Linked DNA regions of Homo sapiens: all the other regions are linked to region 3. Evidence: promoter capture Hi-C in 16 types of primary human blood cells and fetal thymus (Javierre and others, 2016). All regions are on one chromosome and are shown on one strand. The core of a region is centred on a gene start or on the middle of the fragment in contact, and the rest is flanking DNA. Distances in the headings are between cores, read along the strand shown. Region 1 overlaps TMEM218 (transmembrane protein 218). Region 2 has its middle 15 kb from the start of PKNOX2-DT. Region 3 holds the start of HEPACAM (hepatic and glial cell adhesion molecule).

Evidence for each region. The method cuts DNA at HindIII sites, captures the fragments that hold promoters and counts their contacts. A CHiCAGO score of 5 or more calls a contact.
Region 1: a contact is called between a fragment that was not itself captured here and the fragment with the promoter of HEPACAM in region 3, in 1 of 17 cell types (naive CD4 T cells). The highest score is 5.3, in naive CD4 T cells.
Region 2: a contact is called between a fragment that was not itself captured here and the fragment with the promoter of HEPACAM in region 3, in 1 of 17 cell types (monocytes). The highest score is 5.3, in monocytes.

Annotation. Positions count from the first base shown.
Region 1 is chr11:125,099,036-125,101,979 of GRCh38, reverse strand. TMEM218 (transmembrane protein 218) reads left to right here. Exons shown (of 5, transcript NM_001258244.2): 4 at 677-779. Among named protein-coding and RNA genes, the nearest start is that of TMEM218, 11 kb to the left of the region's middle. The HindIII fragment of the contact is 4,850 bases long and covers 1-2,944 here.
Region 2 is chr11:125,148,598-125,151,398 of GRCh38, reverse strand. No RefSeq gene overlaps it. Among named protein-coding and RNA genes, the nearest start is that of PKNOX2-DT, 15 kb to the left of the region's middle. The HindIII fragment of the contact is 1,746 bases long and covers 677-2,422 here.
Region 3 is chr11:124,934,359-124,937,402 of GRCh38, reverse strand. HEPACAM (hepatic and glial cell adhesion molecule) reads left to right here and starts at 1,356. Exons shown (of 7, transcript NM_152722.5): 1 at 1,356-1,481. The coding sequence starts at 1,397. All of the region lies in intron 1 of LOC107984406 (a long non-coding RNA gene), which reads right to left. The HindIII fragment of the contact is 6,598 bases long and covers 1-1,920 here.

The DNA of each region.
Region 1 (2,944 bases), core at 257-2,756, 160 kb before region 3:
TGTGTTATTTATGCTCTGGAGCAGAGATGGGAGGAGAAGGAAGTAGTGTTCTTGAGTTCTAACTGTGGCAAGAAACTCTGCTTTCACTGCTTATTGAGTTTCTTGAGGCTGTATGTGTATGTGTTTATGAATTGTTCAGATTTATGGCAGAGGCTTGGTCCAGTACCCGAGGCTCTAGCCCTGGACCCAGGAAAACGAAAGCAACATTTGATGAGTTGGGCCTGCTTTCTATATCAGGCATTGCCTTCAGAACAGGGTTAGGCCATAAACCGACTCTGAAAACACTAGAGTTGCACTCTGGCAAGACAGTGTTAGTATGAAGCAGAGAGTTGTAGAATTTTCTAAAGTATTCTGTTCTAAAAACAACAGAAGTGGAGGTGGAGAGGGGATGCTTTGGTTTTTCTTGATTATGACTTTGGGCAGAAGTAAAAATAAAAACTACACATTTCCATTCTTAGGAATTGGGAATTACCAAGAATAAATGGGAATGCACCCAGCTGGTACCTGTCTAGGAAGAAGGACTTTGGGATGAAGAGGTTGTTGACAGCAGGCCTCTGGACATTGTTAAGGGACTGAAACATAGAATATTGGCTCCAAGGAAGAGACTGTCCAGACCTAACTGATCAAAGAAGAAATTATAGACAGTGCTTTTAATAATTTGTCTTTTTAACCCCAGGTTCTCTGTCATTTTTTTATTCTTCGGTGCTGTGATCATCACATCAGTTCTGTTGCTTTTCCCGCGAGCTGGTGAATTCCCAGCCCCAGAAGTGGAAGTTAAGGTAAAGCTGTTGCTTTCGTTTTGCCTCCTGAGCTGTGATTCTTATTTCTCTTGGTCTGCACATCCGTCCTGCCCTTGATGTTCCCTGACATCGGGTTGCCTGAGATGTCAGAATTGTAAAGTTCAACCAATGACGGGGAAAGTTCAGAGGGAGTTTTAAGTTCCCCTGCCCCTTCACTCAGGAAAAGAATCTTACTCTGAATTCCATCTACAACCCCACCAGGCAGTTATTTGCCTGATTTGGTCTCATCTTCAGTTTGCATCAAGTTGAAAACAGCCTGTTGGAAAGCCACCTCGTACCATGGGGACAGAAAAAAAAGAAAATGAAATAGGGATAGTCACAGGCCTGCACCCGAGATGAAGTGTTCCCATTCCTGGCAGCCTGGGCTCCTAACTGCAGATCCTGGGCTGAAATTGATGTGGTGCCCTGAGGGTGCTGAGGACATGCTTCTCCAACTGCATGTGCTAGAATTTTCCCAACAGTCTTCTGGGAGTTCTTTGGTCCTCATACCTGGGACCATACCTGCCAGCACCCATGTCTTTAAATGGATTTTTATCATCTCTCTCAGAATCCTTCTCTGGAGTTCTTTACCATGGCTTTACCATGCATGGCTGGTCTCAGACCCATGGGATCTTGACAATGACATTGACCTTTTCTGTCCCATTACTCCTTCTCACAGCTTTCCTCTCAACCTTCATTTTGATGTTTTAAGTGATAGTCATGAAAATAGCTAACATTCTTTAAGGGATTTCCGTGTGCCAGGTCCTGTGCCAAACACTTTGTTTGCACTGTCTCATTTAAACCTCAGGACAGCCCTAAGTAGTATGACATAGGTACCATTATTATCCCCATTTTATAGGTAAGAACACTGAGTCTGTCAGAGGTTAAGGTAACTTGCCCAAGGTCACATAGCAAGAGGCAGAACAGGGATTCAAGCTGAGGTCCGTCTTCAAAATCTTCAGTGTTGAGAACTTAACAGAATATTCAGGGCAGTCCCAGAGAGCTCATGGGTTAGCATTTTGACACTAGACAACAACAGTACACAAGATTATATGTGTAACTTTTGAACTAAAATTGACACTGTAGGATTAACTATGGCAAGAGGAAGGAAATTAAACTCCAAGGGAAATAGTACTTTACCACACACACTTAAGGAATTATTTCCATGGACACAAGTTTGTTGTCAGTATTTGGAAAACACTCTGGAGGTGTGGGTACCACATGTGTGAGCCAGGGGCAAATTCACACCTCACTTATCTTTTTTTTTTTTTTTTTTTTTGAGACAGTCTCGCTCTGTCGGCCAGGCTGGAGTGCAGTGGCATGATCTCGGCACACTGCAACCTCCGTCTCCCGGACTCAAGCAATTCTCCTGCCTCAGCCTCCCGAGTAGCTGAGATTATAGGCATGTGCCACCACACCCAGCTAATTTTTGTATTTTTGGTAGAGATAGGGTTTCACCATGTTGGCCAGGCTGGTCTCAAACTGCTGACCTCAGGTGATCCACTCGCCTCAGCCTCCCAAAGTGCTGGGATTACAGACGTGAGCCACCGCACCCAGCTGCTTTCCTTGTCTTTTAAGGGGGAGAGTGATGTGGGCTGCCACATTTCTGGATGCTGCAGATGTAAACATCGGGAGAAGGGCACAGAGCAAACACATTTTTGAAATCAATCCCTCGATTGTCTGTCATATGAGTTTCAGACCCAGGAGACAAGAATGGGGTTTGAGCAAAATACTTTTGTCAGCATGGCCGGCAGAATTGGAGTTCTCATTTTCAGGTTTTGAGAGCGGGCCTCTGCAGCAGCCTGGCTCAATGCTGTATCAATAATACATGGCCTGGGCCTTCTGCACCCAAGGCCTGCTAATTGGCTAATTAAAAAGTGAAACGTGTCGAACGAGCAAACATGTGGCCCGCAAGAGACTTGTTCAGTACCGGAGCCAAGGTCAAAGTTATGTTAAAGCTGTTTTATCAAACTGACCTTTGTTGTAAGTTGACTGTTGGGGTAATCTCTGGAGCAGCTGAGGTGTCTTTGGACCTCAGTGATCCTACTAGGGCTCGGGTCTGAGAGATACTTTGTGTATGGCCGCTGTGTTAGTTTTCTGTTGCTGCTGTAACAAATTATGTGAACTAATGGCTCCCAACACAGATGTATTATCTTACAGTTCTG
Region 2 (2,801 bases), core at 300-2,799, 210 kb before region 3:
CTAAAACAGAAAAAAAAAAAAAAGGAGGAGGAATGGAGCAATAGAGCTCTTGCAAGGAATAAAAGAAAATTTCAAAAGAGCAGTAATGCTTCAAAAACACTCTCAAAAAGAGGAAAAAATGTACTCATAAAACAATAAGAGATTACAATGAAAAGATAAATTTTTAATTTTAAAAGCCTCTTTGAAATTAAAAATATAACTAAAAGTTTTTCAAAAATTGAATATAAAGTTTAGAAGATAAAGTTGAAGAAATCTTTCAAAGAGTGAAGCAAAATGGTAGAGATGGATAATAGGAGAGAAAAAAAGACATTAGTCTCCTAATGAGCCCAGCACAAAGAATAGAAAAGACATATACCAATGCCCACCACCTTCATTATCATGACATTTTAGAACATAAAACATTTTAAAAGTCCTAAAACACAGGTAAAAGAAACGAGCATAAAAACATCAAACTTTTGGCCGGGCGCTGTGGCTTACGCCTGTAATCCCAGCACTTTGGGAGGCCGAGGCAGGCGGATTATGAGGTCAGGAGATCGAGACCATCCTGGCTAACATGGTGAAACTCCGTCTCTACTAAAAAATACAAAAAATTAGCCGGGCGTGGTGGCGGGCGCCTGTAGTCCCAGCTATTCGGGAGGCTGAGGCAAAAGAATGGTGTGAACCCGGAGGCAAAGCTTGCAGTGAGCCGAGATCGCGCCACTGCACTCCAGCCTGGGCAACAGAGCGAGACTCCGTCTCAAAAAAAAAAAAAAATTAAACTTTTAAAAAGAGCAACCTCAGATGTTAAAAGATATCACAGAAATGCCTTTTACATTCTGAAAGAAACTGTTCTTTAATCTAAAATTCGATACCCAAATAAATTATCAGTCACATATCACAGTAGTCTAGAGATATTTTCAGATATTTAATGACTCAAGAAAATGACCTCCTAGGCACCCTATCTTAGGAAGTTATTGGAGGATGGGGTTTAATAAAGTTAGACTATAGGGCAACATAGAATACATGGAATTCAGGAAATAGGGTATTTACCACAGGAAGACAATAAAGGAAAAATTCAAAATTATGGTAAATTGAAGCCTCTGGATGACAGTTAAACAGCATTCCTATAAAGCAGCTAATCCAGGTTGAAACAGAAAAACACAAGATTCTTGGAGGGATTACTATATGGGGAAAAAGTAAAACAGATGAGCCTGAATGCATAGAAAGTAAATTCCAGGAAAAACAATGGATTGTATGAAAAAGGACACAAGGTCACATTGTACTACTTGACTTGGTAGCAAATTATATTTGCATAGTCATTAGCATAGAAACATCAAATAGTGATTGAACTAAAGAGTAAGTTTATGTTGAAGAGATAGGAGGAGGGGAAGAACAAGGATGGAGTTGGGAGACAACACCATGAGAGAATTAAGCTCTCTACATGGCAGTAAATCAATACATAATTCCTAAAATTGGTCAATTAAGTAGTAACAATATAAGCATATTATTTAGAAACACAGCGATATACACAAAAAAGAAATGAGATGTAGGAGTTGATGGTAACTGCCTTGGGGCAGGACTTGGGAGCGTGGAGAGGTGAGGCGAGGCCACTGTTGATTTCCAAACTATCTATATATATTCTTTGATAAATAAAAATTAAACTTTTATAAGAGAGTCCACATGACATGCACACATCCCAGCTCAGCTTTTCAGGCTGTGGGATCAGATGAGGATTTGTGGTCAAAGCTCTGATCGAAATAAACGATGCGTCTTTATCCGCGTTTCTGCAGATACCCCTTGGGGACCTGACACAGTGGTTGGAGACCAGTAGGCTACAAAGATAAAGAATGCTGACCCTGGCCTACAGCTGTGGAGGGTACAGGCAATTCTCAAATATGCTGTGATATTTCATGTCTGTGCATGCTGGTCTCTCTGATTAGAGTGCTTCAATAAATAAAGCTCTAATCACCTAATGTGGTGGACATCTCCTCAACCTTTAAACACCTCCAATCTATCTCCTCTCCTAGAAAGCCTTTCCTGAACCCTCCTTCCCAAAGAGAGAGTTATTCCCTCTTTTCACCTATTTTTGAATCTTCTGTGGATGCATCTAGCAAAGCATCCATCACCCTGTGTTTCGGTTGTAAATAAACCATCTCTCCAACTGATTTGTGATTCTCTCTGTGGCCATCAGCTTATGCTGGTTATGCTGCGGGATAAACAACCATAAAATCACAGCAGCTCACCATGCAAAGGTTTATCTCTCATTATGTTACACATCGGCTGTGGCACTGGCATTCCACGTCTTCTCTTCATTGTGGGACCCAGCTAGAGAGGCCTGGCCCTATTCTGGACATGCCACTCTTCTAGAAGATAAAAAAGAGAAAACGCAGTGGAACCGCAAAATGTCCCTGAAACCTCCTGCTCAGGCTTTGAGGAGAAAGCTTCTGCTCAAATTTCACTGGCCAAAGCAAGCCACATGACCAGGTCTGACATCAGTATAAGCCTTTCACAGGGCAAGGCAGCAAACAATTGGGCACACTAATACCGTCTGTCACAGTCTCCTTGGTAGGTTTCATATCTTATTTTGATATCCTGGCCCTAACACAATGCTTGGCACCAAGTCAAGTACTCAGAGCATCTTCATGGACTTGAACTGATTATCAGATAATAACTTAGCCTGATACAGGAACCTAAGATCAGCAGGCGATTTGAAGAAGGCAAAGGGCCTGCTGCAGAGCTGGGAGGGCATCAACAACAGGCTCACAGCACGGGAAATAGCACCATGCTCGGAATCAAGAGGCCCGGGTTCCAATTCAGCTGTG
Region 3 (3,044 bases), core at 107-2,606:
AGTCATAAACACAGAAATGCAAAAGGAAAAAAGAATCCCCTTTATATATTTCAGAATGTTTTCAGAGAGGTCTGTGAAGTTCAGTGCTTCCCAACTCTTCTCCCTCTGCCGAGGCTCAGAAGGGCTATGTAATAATGCTTCAGTTCTAGAAAGTTGACCTACTCAGGCTTTCTCCAGTATGTAAAAAGAATATTTAGAGAGATAATTGCTGCACTTACAAAACCAAGACCAGGGGTTAGGGATGACCAAGAAGGAAGTTGTGAAGTTTGGTCTCCCAAAAATATAAAGATCCCAGCATGAATGAAAAAAGAAACAAGGCAATTTTTAAAAAGTTTAAAACATCATCTCTGTAACAAAGGATTTGCTAGGTACTCTTCTGTACCAAATCTCCATCAACGCTCCCAACAATTCCCCTCAAGGAAGCTCTTCTTTTCCCCATTTTACAGATGAGAAATTGAAGGCTCAAAGAGGTTGCGAGCCCATCCCAAGATCACAGTTACTAGGCATCCATTCCCTTGGCCGCCCTCATGAAAAGGTGTGAACACATGAATGGGGGTCAGAGTAGAGCTAGAGTGTTTCTCCTCTTCACAGCCTCAAAACAGGAGGGCACAGCTAGGCTGTTAAGCTGGTAACAGAACCCTAGGATGCTGGCTGTTAGGAGATGACCTTCATTTTGCTCAGACATGTTCTAGAAAATTGCCTGAAAGCAGGGGAATGAACAGAGTGGCTTCTGGAAAGAGGTGTCCAGCATCTATGTGATTCTATGATAGAAGAGAAAATTCCAAGCCACGGAAAGACAAGTGTAACAATAATAGAATTCAAGCTGTTTTCCAGTCTTCTTCCTTTGGGATGGAACAGGGGTTTTCCATTTCTTCAGCAGTTGTCTGGAGTCTTTCACTTCCCAGCTTTTTAAAATCTCTTCTCCCTCCCTTTTCAGAGCTTATTGGAGGTCTGTCCTGGCATGTACCCTCCTCCTCAGGGAGAAGGAGTGTTAGGTGGAGACAGGGTAGGTTGGGACACAAAGTCCAGTTAAGTGTGTGTCCCAGCTCAGTGCTCTGAGCCCAGATCCTCATCTCCCTGGGTAGTGAGGCTCAGCACAGACAAGCAACCAACTGCTGGGCTGCCGGTGCCCCCCATGTTGGAACCTGAGTTGGAGATTATCTCCTAAGCAGATACCTGCTTCCAAACTGGGGATGTAGGGCTTGGAAACTAGAAAATGCCAGGTCTGAGGGAGAGGAAAGAACAAGTCCAGCAATACACAGAGCTCTGTGTATTCAGAGGGAAGTTGGCAGGGTTGTGTTCGGGCAGAGAAACTCCGAGTGGTACAAAGGGGACGTGCCCAGAGTGGAGAAATCATGCTAATTGTCTGCACTAGAGCTGGAGAACGCCACCCAAAATGAAGAGAGAAAGGGGAGCCCTGTCCAGAGCCTCCAGGGCCCTGCGCCTTGCTCCTTTTGTCTACCTTCTTCTGATCCAGACAGGTAGGAGGCCAGAGGGTAAGAAAGGGTCTGAAGAAAGGACCCGGGGCTTTTACAGCAGACGGAGGGGAGAGTGGAGGGCCTGAATGCCTTTGGGGCAGGAGTGGGGGAGAGTTCAGCTGCCGTGGGAAACATGTCAGGGAATTCAGGCATTAGCGTTGAACGTATTTCTTTATTTTGTGTGCCTCCCGCGCGGCCCCTACCCCCTTCCCCCAAAAGGCTGCATGACTTTGGAGCTCCCACGGCATTCAGTACATTAGATGGCGGGCACTGGGCCATTTCGTATGGGATGACTTGTTGGCGTGGGCCAGTCTGGCATTCTTTCCAAGGGATTGTGGTGGGGCTTGATGGGTAGGGGTAGGGGAAATTTTCTTTTTATACCTCCCCAGCCCCCGACTCTGGCTTCTCTGTGTGTAAAAGAGTAAGGCAGATGAAAGAAGCTTTGGAGATAATGAGCCTCCTAATGTGGGATAGTCATACCCACCTATCCATAATTCACTCCACTCCATAGCTGCTTACCTCCTCTACCGCCCCCTACCAATCCTTTGAGAAGTGATCTTATTTAAATATACCTATTTATGAGTACATACACATATACACACACACACACACACACAATTACAGAGCACCTAGGAATTCACAACTTAGTGAGGCAAACAGATGTGGAGATCATTTTACTAAACTGCAGGAACTATCATAAGTCAATTATGCAGAGAATGCATAGCAATCAGAGAAAGGTCACCTACCCCATCCAGGAAGCTGGTGCTGGTGGAGGGGGTGTTGGTAGGGTAGGACACAGGGTGTGGGAATATCAGGGGGAGGTTTTCTGGTAGAAGGAATGTGTGCACTGAATTTTAAAAGATGGGGAAAAAAGGTAGGAGTATAAGTGGGTGTTAGGGTTGGGAAATGAGCAAAGGTCAACAGCTTGAAATAACATCAAGTGTTTAGTCAGAGCCCAGCAGTTCATCACTGCTGGAGAGAAAAGCATGAATTGAGTGAGGCAAGAGCTTTGTAAACCAGACTCGTAATCTGGGGATTGAGAGGTGAGGGAATGAGCGGTTTTTAATTTGGGGACTGTCAGGGTTACATGTACCTTTCAGATAGCTTACTCAGTCTGCAGGGGGTCATTCGAGGGGAAACTGGAGGCAAATAAAATAAGAAAGGAAGTTTGTATTCATTTTCTAGGGCTCCTATAACAAAATACCACAAACTGAGTGGCTTAAACAACAGAAATGCATTATCTCAAAGTCGTGGAAGCCAGAAGTGGGAGATCGAGGTGTCAGCAGGGCCATGCTCTCTCTGAAGCTTCTAGGGAGGGCTCTGCCTTAGGGTTCTCTCCTAGCTTCTGGTAATTCCTTGACTTGTGGCAGCATCACTCCAGTCTTGGTATGGCATTCCCCGTGTTTGCATGTCTATGTCCACATTTCCCCTTTTTATAAGGACACATACTAGATTAGGTCCATCCTACTCCAGTATGATCCCTTCTTATTAGATCTGCAGTGACCCCATTGCCAAATAAGTTCACATTCTGAGGTACTTGGGGGTTAGGACTCCAACGTATGAATT